Linked DNA regions of Homo sapiens: all the other regions are linked to region 3. Evidence: promoter capture Hi-C in 16 types of primary human blood cells and fetal thymus (Javierre and others, 2016). All regions are on one chromosome and are shown on one strand. The core of a region is centred on a gene start or on the middle of the fragment in contact, and the rest is flanking DNA. Distances in the headings are between cores, read along the strand shown. Region 1 overlaps SSH2 (slingshot protein phosphatase 2). Region 2 overlaps SSH2 (slingshot protein phosphatase 2). Region 3 holds the start of SSH2 (slingshot protein phosphatase 2).

What was found. The method cuts DNA at HindIII sites, captures the fragments that hold promoters and counts their contacts. A CHiCAGO score of 5 or more calls a contact.
Region 1: a contact is called between a fragment that was not itself captured here and the fragment with the promoter of SSH2 in region 3, in 16 of 17 cell types (naive CD4 T cells, total CD8 T cells, megakaryocytes and 13 more). The highest score is 18.6, in naive CD4 T cells.
Region 2: a fragment that was not itself captured here is called in contact with the fragment with the promoter of SSH2 in region 3 in 11 of 17 cell types (M2 macrophages, naive CD4 T cells, fetal thymus and 8 more); the score reaches 10.1 in M2 macrophages.

The regions. Positions count from the first base shown.
Region 1 is chr17:29,810,057-29,812,875 of GRCh38, reverse strand. The region is part of intron 2 of SSH2 (slingshot protein phosphatase 2); the gene reads left to right. Among named protein-coding and RNA genes, the nearest start is that of SSH2, 120 kb to the left of the region's middle. RefSeq lists an enhancer at 2,772-2,819. The HindIII fragment of the contact is 1,021 bases long and covers 1,011-2,031 here.
Region 2 is chr17:29,826,143-29,828,982 of GRCh38, reverse strand. All of the region lies in intron 2 of SSH2 (slingshot protein phosphatase 2), which reads left to right. It overlaps LOC124900390 (a long non-coding RNA gene), which reads left to right. Exons shown (of 2, transcript XR_007065694.1): 2 at 1,269-2,840. Among named protein-coding and RNA genes, the nearest start is that of SSH2, 100 kb to the left of the region's middle. The HindIII fragment of the contact is 2,473 bases long and covers 222-2,694 here.
Region 3 is chr17:29,928,890-29,931,589 of GRCh38, reverse strand. It overlaps SSH2 (slingshot protein phosphatase 2), which reads left to right and starts at 1,362. Exons shown (of 16, transcript NM_001282129.2): 1 at 1,362-1,652. The coding sequence starts at 1,590. It also overlaps a transcript of EFCAB5 not described here. RefSeq lists silencers at 180-349, 1,083-1,172, 1,323-1,602, 2,113-2,162. The HindIII fragment of the contact is 8,919 bases long and covers 628-2,700 here.

The sequences.
Region 1 (2,819 bases), core at 272-2,771, 120 kb after region 3:
GCTCTGTCACCCAGGCTGGAGTGCAGTGGTGTGATCCCGGCTCACTGCAAGCTCCGTCTCCTGGTTCTCGCCATTCTCCTGCCTCAGCCTCCCGAGTAGCTGGGACTACAGGCGCCCGCCACCATGCCCAGCTAAATTTTTATATTTTTAGTAGAGACGGGGTTTCACCGTGTTAGCCAGGATGGTCTCGATCTCCTGACCTCGTGATCCACCCGCTTCGGTGTCCCAAAGTGCTGGGATTACAGGCATGAGCCATCGCGCCCGGCTGGCATGGTTTTAAAATGCATAAATAGGCTGGGCGTAGTGGCTGACACCTGTAATCCCAGTGCTTTGGGAGACCAAGGCAGGAGGATCGCTTGAATCCAGGAGTTCAAGACCAACCTGGGCAATAGAGTGAGCTGTCATCTCTACAAAAAATTAAAAAGTTAGTCAAGCATGGTGGCATGTGCCTGTAGTCCCAGCTACTCAGGAGGCTGAGGTGAGAGAATCACGTGAGTCTGGGAGGCAGAGGCTGCAGTGAGCCAAAATTGTGTGACTGCACCCCAACCTGGGCAACAAAATAAGACCCTATCTTCAAAAAAAAAGGCAGAAATATATATTTTAAAAAACATAATTGTGTGAAGATACTAAAAACATTGAATTGTATACTTTTAATAGGTGAATTGTATGGTATATGAATTATTTCTCAATAAGACTTAAAAAAAAAAAAAAAAAGAACACATACTATGGCCAGGTATCAGGGTATAAAAATAAGACACAGTCCCTGTTTCAAAAGGTTCACAGTTTAATGAATGAGTCTTTTTTTCTTATTTTTCATGAGGGTTAGAGATAAGTATTACCACTTGCTCCCTGACAACAGTTCTTATGTTGGATATATGTAATCTCCTCTTTTATATAAAAATCATAAATATATTTAAATGTAAATTAAAATAGTCGATAGAAAATCAAACTCTTTAGATATTTTTATACTTGAGATTATACAAATTCTTAGAGAATTAGGTGGTGAAGCTTGCATTAAATTATTTGGTTCATGCCTGTCCCAGCATTTCAAGAGGCTGAGGTAGGCAAATTACTTGAGCCTAGGAGTTCAAGACCAGCCTAGACAACATAGTGAGACTCTGTCTCTACAAAAAATAAAATTTAGCTGGGCATGGTGGTGCACACCTGTAGTCCCAGCTAGTTGGGAGGCTGAGGTGGAAGGATCACTTGAGCCCAGGGGTTCAAGACAACAGTAAGGTATGATCGCAACAGTGCACTGCAGCCCGGGCAACAGAGCTAGACTCTGTCTCCAAGAAAAAAAAAAACTTGTGGTTCACATTTCATTTATAAGTATTTCTATCTTATTTGTGAGTGGAAGCACTTGTTTACGTAACTTCAATGAATAGCTTTTTACATTTTTACTCTTTGAAAAGTGATTATTAAATGAAAAAATATATAAAAATTTATTTTTTAAAACTGCAATAAACCAGTTAATATCAAAATAAATATATAGAAATGATTTGCTATTGTATATTGCCGGCAATAACCATTATATATTACGTAATATATAATATAATCAAATGTAATATTAAAAAGTTCCTGGCCAGGTACAGTGGCTCACACTTGTAATCCCAGCATTTTGGGTGGCTAAGGAGGATGGATCACTTGAGGCCAGGAGTTCAACACCAGCCTGGCCAACATGGCAAAACTCCATCTCTACTAAAAATACAAAAATTAGCCAGGTGTGGTGGTGCGCACCTGTAGTCGCAGCTACTCGGGAGGCTGAAGCAGTAGAATCGCTTGAACCCAGGAGGCAGAGGTTGCAGTGAGCCGAGATTGTGCCACCGCACTCCACCTTGTGCAACAGAGCGAGACTCTGTCTCCAAAAAACAAACAAAAAAAGAATTTTCTTGGGCCACATATAAAATACACTAATGATAGCCGATGAGCTGAGAAAAAAAATTACAAAAAAAAATCATAATGTTTTAAGAAAGTTTACGAATTTGTGTTGGGCCACATTCAAAGCCATTCTGGGCATGGGTTGGACAAGCTTGTTCTAAAGGGATTTTTAGGGTGTTGAAAACCTAACAAAGTCATTTGGAAGACTAAGTGGGTGAAATTGTGCACTCAAAATTAAAAGATGAGATTCTCACAGTCACATATTGAAAACAATTATAAGCTAATAATAGCATGGTGTACAAGAAAGATGTTGCCTAGAAGGCCCAGAAATAGACCTTAGTACATGAAAATATTTAGTGTATGATTAAGGTAGAATTTCAAGTCAGTTGGGGAAAATGGATAAATAGCCAGGTAGTGCTGTAATAACAATTAACTATTTGGGGAGAAAATTAAGTTAGATAGCTCTATCTTCAACCATATACCACAATAAATTGTAGATGAATTAATGAACTATTTTCTGGGAAACTTATTTAAATATGCAAGTTAAAAAATAGAAGCTATAAAGATTGCTAGATATGACTATCTAAAATAAAATAAATAGAACCCACTTCTAAAAGCAGATGATGATGATTAGTTCCCTAATTTATGATTATTATTGACAACATTGACCCATTCATCTTTGTTTCTATGAGAATTCTGTTGTGCAGTCTCTAAAATGGTTGCGTATGTGAAAATGTGGGATGGCTATAGCTAAGAATATTCTTGTTTGAGGAATTACTATCTTTTTGTATTTTAAATCAGGGTGTTTGCAGACTGAATCTACATTATAGAAAATGGGGCACCTTGGTTGGAGAATCTGTCCTACAATACTTGTTCTTTCTTTTACATTAGTCATTTATTCAAAATTTTTATTCAGCATTGCTAGGTGCTGAGTATACAGC
Region 2 (2,840 bases), core at 209-2,708, 100 kb after region 3:
ATTTTACAAATGTCATTTGGAGATGGAAATGGAAGCAGAAGGGTTGCTTACTTTAACGCCACTGGGGTTTTGCTTTGAAGCTGGCTTTTCACAAACACCAATGAAAAGGTTCTGTCACTTGCAGGAAATGACAGAATGTAGTTAGTTGCTTGGAAATGTCTGTGTGTCTTTGTTTCCCACAATACTAGGTAACGTCTGTAATTATACTGCTGAACAAAGCTTCAGGTTGATCAAGGTTAATTGTTGATAGTATTTGAAATGTTAATAATGTCTCCCCAAAAACTGCTTTACCAAAATAGATTGTTCTAGCTTCACAAAGGATTTAAATACCATTGATTTATTTCATTCAGCAATATGTAATTCTAGGCCTGGAAACTGGGATCTTCTGATTTAATATTTTCTAAGGAATTGGTACCCAGAAAATGTGTATTCTCTTCTGCTTTAAAGTTTGGCAAATCACTTGCTTCCAGGGATTCTCACTGTCTTTAGCCTTTTCTCTAAAACACACATTTCTGCTTTTGATCCATTTTTGTGGAACTAGGAAGAGGGGTTAAAGCATGCCATCTTTCTGTAGGAGTCCTAGGGAGTTTTGAGTGGTTGGGAATCTATTCTAAAAGTTCACAGTAGATTCAGACCCTGCTGAGAAAGTCTTTACTTTGTATTTAAATTTGTTGTGTAGCTTAAGAAGATAAAAGAGCAGGATTCTTAAGGGGGTTTTGCTGCCAAGTGCTACGAAAGGAAAAATTAAAAGTTTCTTGTGTAGTCAATGAGAGTTCATTGCAATCAAGATCACTTACTGAATTTGTTAAAGACTTCCTGTGATGGCAGGGTTCACAGATGATCAATAATTCTGTTTTTGTAAATACAGGTGAGTTTTGTATCTTATCCTTTATCTAGTCTAACATGATGGCTCTACCTCCATGGCTGCCTTTTCTGTTACTTAGTTCTCTAAGTGAAGAACCAAAAGCATCAGCTAAATTGTTCTAGTAATTAGGAGAGTGTTAGGAATTGGCTAGAAATACAGCTTAACCCAGCTATGGCAGGAAGGTAAGCAGAGGTTCTATCATATGTAATTATCCTCTTTAAAATGGTTAAGAAATGTATTAGATAGCATTACTACTAAAACCTAAGGCTTATATTGATTTAGAAAAACATTCACATTACAGATATTGTAGCTATGCTGGGGTTTTTTTTTTTTCTGTACTCATTCATTCTATTTATTTTTTCCCTAAATTATTTCTTCATTGTTTTGTGTTTGTCCTTTCCAGCTTCAAAAAGCTATACTGAGGGATATGCCAAGTCATAATGCATATTACCTGGAACTTCCTGGAAACCAAGCATTTTATTCCTGTGGAAATGTGTTTAGCCAAGTTTTAGAAGAATGACAAAGTGAGAAAACCAAATTTATTTTTATTGCTGTTGACTATTACTTAAAATAGGAAAAGGAGCTTAATTCTTGGGCTTCTTTATCACTAACTTAGTATGTTCCAAGCACTGTTCTAGTTGCTTGAGATACAAAAACAAAAATTGCTGTCCTTCTGAAGTTAGTAATCTGATGCCTGTTACCATTTCACCCTCTGCCCCTGCCAAGGAAACAATCAAACTGGGATTTAAATCCTAGCACTACTATATGCTGTCTGTGACTGGGAAGTCATTTATCTTCTTTGAGCCTTTTACTAGTAAGAAGCCTGGTAATCATGTTGCCATTTTATCATTTATATAAGCATCTCAAGAATAATTTGTTAGCAGTTCATTCTGCAAGAGGGAATTTCCTTGTAACTTGCTTGGATTTGTACTCAGAAGTGCCTTATGCAAAATAAGTTAAAGAAGTTTTGTCCCAGCATTTACCCATATGTGTTCCCTAGTGTGTATTTTTACAATTGACCTGGCTTAACATCAGCAACAATTTGTAGTATGACACCAAGACTACATAGGTTTATATTTATGGAATTTAGTCTCATACATGTCATCAGAGTTGAGGGGAATGATGAAGGAAATGAAAAAGTCGAGCTCTCTTGGTAGGTAGCTGCTACCTTTTGGTATAGTCTTCATCTTTTCCTTTTGGGAACTGTGTCTACTTTACTCCATCTGATTCTGGTAGGGCTGAGAATCACTCGGCCTTGCTTTTCTACCACTGGATGGTCATATGTCCATAGACCCATGTCAGGCTGGTCAATCAAAGCACTCCTCTTCCCTGGATATTATGGTGGCACATGACCCAAGCAGGGCCACTGTCATTTTGAGAGATGGATATAGGTCTCTCTGGAGGTAAAAAGGGTTAATTTTTTTCTGGACTCTGATTAAAAGGATGATATATGCTTAGTGTGGTAGGTGGTCATCTTACCACCACACAGAGACAGTCTACCTAAGAATAAGAAGAAAGCAAAGTCAAAGAGAAAGAGTGGAAAATAAAGACCTAATAACATCAATGCATTTCTGAATCCCTGTTGAATTTACCAGTTAAATAAACTACTATGTTTTTTGTTTCTCTTGAGTCAGATTGCTTGCAACTGAAAGCATCTTGTATAATACAATATCCTTATCTATGATTGTAGTCATCGTTTGCATTTGTCAATATTTTTGGTTCTCCTTCTCCATACTGGTAGGATTATGTTTCCTTGGGAACTGACATGGTCATGTGACTGTTTCGGCAAACAAAATATAAGTGGTTTTTGTCACTTCTAGGTGGAAGCTTTTAAGTCTTAAGAGCTGTTGCATAATTCATTATATTCCATTTTCCCTGTCACAGTGACCAGTCAAGATGAGAGAGAACAACATGGAACAGAATATCCACCAACCTAGGATGGACATGTAACATAAATGAGAAACTGTTGTTTTCA
Region 3 (2,700 bases), core at 113-2,612:
AACCATACATCTTTGTTTAATTTTGTCTCACAGGCACTCCTGATCACCACCAGGGGGCAAAAGCCTACCAGCTGGCTTCTCTGCACTACACTCTACATAGGACTGTACAGTACAGGGACCCTCAGTGTCTGATTCTTGATGGAACCTCCCTGCTAATTATTTCAACCACAGGGCCCCAGGGAGAGAACAAAGGCTCAGCACAGAGGACTCTTGTGGCGTTTAACCGTACAGCAGCCAGAAAGAGCTCATGACAGCCCTGTCAGTTTAAAAGAAGCAATGAGATCCAAGAGTGTTTGAGTGACAAACAGGAGGGGGTGGGTTTTAATAACTGCAAACTCCCAAGTGTGTGTGTTTTCTACAGCTTTGATATGTACGGTGGTATTTACCAGCTCATCCACTCAAGCTGAGAAATAGCCTTGTCAACTCTCTTTCTTTGTGTAAATAATCAGTGATATTTGCATTGTGCAATTTTTTTCCTTTTTAATCTTGATTTTCCATTACATTCTTTGCTTATGTTCTGCAGACAATTTACCCCTGAGAAAACCATTCCCTTAAAATATCTTTTAATCTACATTTTTACATAGGTCTATGAAAGAATGACATTTAGAGACGAAGGAGAAGAAAGCTTAACGAGCAAATCCTGTTTAATTAAAAGACTGTCTTCACAGCAGGAGGCAAGTGAGAGGTCAATAGCAGGCTGGACCCTCACAACCGGCTTCCTCGGACTCCCAGGCGCGCTCAGCTTCTCTTCTCCTCAGGAATAATGAATAAGTCTTTAGACAGGCAATAGAGGAAGCATGAGGGTACCACAAACCTTTCCAGGGTATCAAACGGAAAATGGTTTTCTTTCCAGAAGTCTCATCATAAAACATAGACGGAAGGGGGGGAAAAGTTAAGAAAAAGCCCCCGAGAGCCGGGGTGAAGGGAGTAAACTGGTCTAGCCCAGTTCTGTCTGCGCCCAGTGAGAGGGTTTGAAACTCCGCGGAGCCCTTTCCCAATAGAAAACGTGTTTGCTTCAGGATTTTCATCTCAGCTGCTTTTTTTTAAGGTTGGTTAAGCTGTGCGCCGCCCCACCTCATAAAATGGTTGTCTCTCAGGAGTGAAGACTCCAGCGGCCCCCCGCCCTGGGACCCCTCACCGGGCTGGCTCCCTTCGGCCCCTTCCCCCACCCCACTCCACAGCACCCAGTGCTGGCAAACCGCGCGATTCCAGCACGAAGGAGGAAACCCAGGAGGGTGCGGCGGCCCGAGGCGCACGCACTCGGCCAGCTTCCGGCAACTCAAGGGTTACGACCAGGCGGCGGCGCGCGCCGAGGGGAGAGGCGGTAGCTGACAGGTGGCGCCTGCGCACTGGGAGCGCTCATTGTGCCCCGCAGCTGCGGAACCGCCCGCCCGCCGCCCGTTCGGAGCGTCAGTCGGCGACAGTCTGGTGGTGGGTGCGGAGTCTGCGGCCGTTCCCGCGGCCTCCTCCTCCTCCCCGTTCCCTTCACCCCCACCCCGCACCCCTTTCCCCATCCCGGCTCCGTCACCCTCCCGTCCCCCACACTCAGGACAAGAATGCCCTGCCCGGAACAACCCAGCAGCGCCTAGATGGCTTTGGTCACGGTCCAGCGGTCACCTACCCCCAGCACCACCTCCAGCCCCTGCGCCTCGGTGAGTCCTTCCTGGCGGCCGCTCCGCTTGCTTCTGTCACTGCGGCTCCGCTTTGCCTCAGCGGGTCCCGCCGAACGCCACTGCGCACGCGCCGCGCCGCTTCCCAGGCCTTGGCACTCGGCTGCCGCGAACCCCCCCACACCCCCATGTTAAAGACTAGCAGCAGGAACTACAAGACGTTGATTTTTGCCCCCATCACCCTGAGCACCTAGCTCCTCACAATCCTCGCCCTGAAATCCCCTGTGGCATGCCTCCCTATGGCTTGAGCACTTCCTTTTGGTAATGAGTCATTCTTGCTTTTCACCCTCCCCCTTCTTTTACCCTCTGTTGCTCTGCTGCAGGGAGGGGACCGTGAGCCTCCTGCGTTGCCCCTTACCCACACCCACATCTCTTACCCACACCATTTCATAGACCTGTTCAGTATTTGCACACTGCACACCCTTCTTCGTACTCGCCAGGGTGTGTGCCTTCCCCTAGTCACTTGCTGGCTTTCTTTTGCTCTGTACTGTTCAGGCTTTGAACTGCCCAACCGTAGTTATTCCTTGGTTTCTCCCGCCTGCCCCCCACCCCAGAGGGTAGCAATGATCTCTGTTTCCTGGACCTCTTACCTTTCCTTTATGAGGTCCCGAAGCATCTGGTGCTGCTTAGTGATCAGTGTCAAATTATTTCCGTCTTACAGATATTTATGCCTTACACTCATTGCTCGTGATCATTCTTGTTCTAAGGTCGTGTTTGTATGGCTCGTTACCTCAGATGCCTATGCCAATAAAGCATGCTCTCAGAAGGAAAATACCCAGTAACCAGCCTTTCCCCGCTGGGCCCGTCTTTGCCTTCTCTCCTCGCCCCACCCCCATTCGTTTACACTCCATTCTCTTAGGCTCCATTTTTGAAAATATTTATTTTTAAAAACAATATATTGCACCAGTGGGGCAAATGGGCTTTAAAAAACCAACATCCAGATGTTTTAGAGAGAAATAAACTGAGTGAAAATGCGAGCAACTGGGAAAACCACCTTGAACTTCCTACAGAACTGTAATTTTAAAAACGG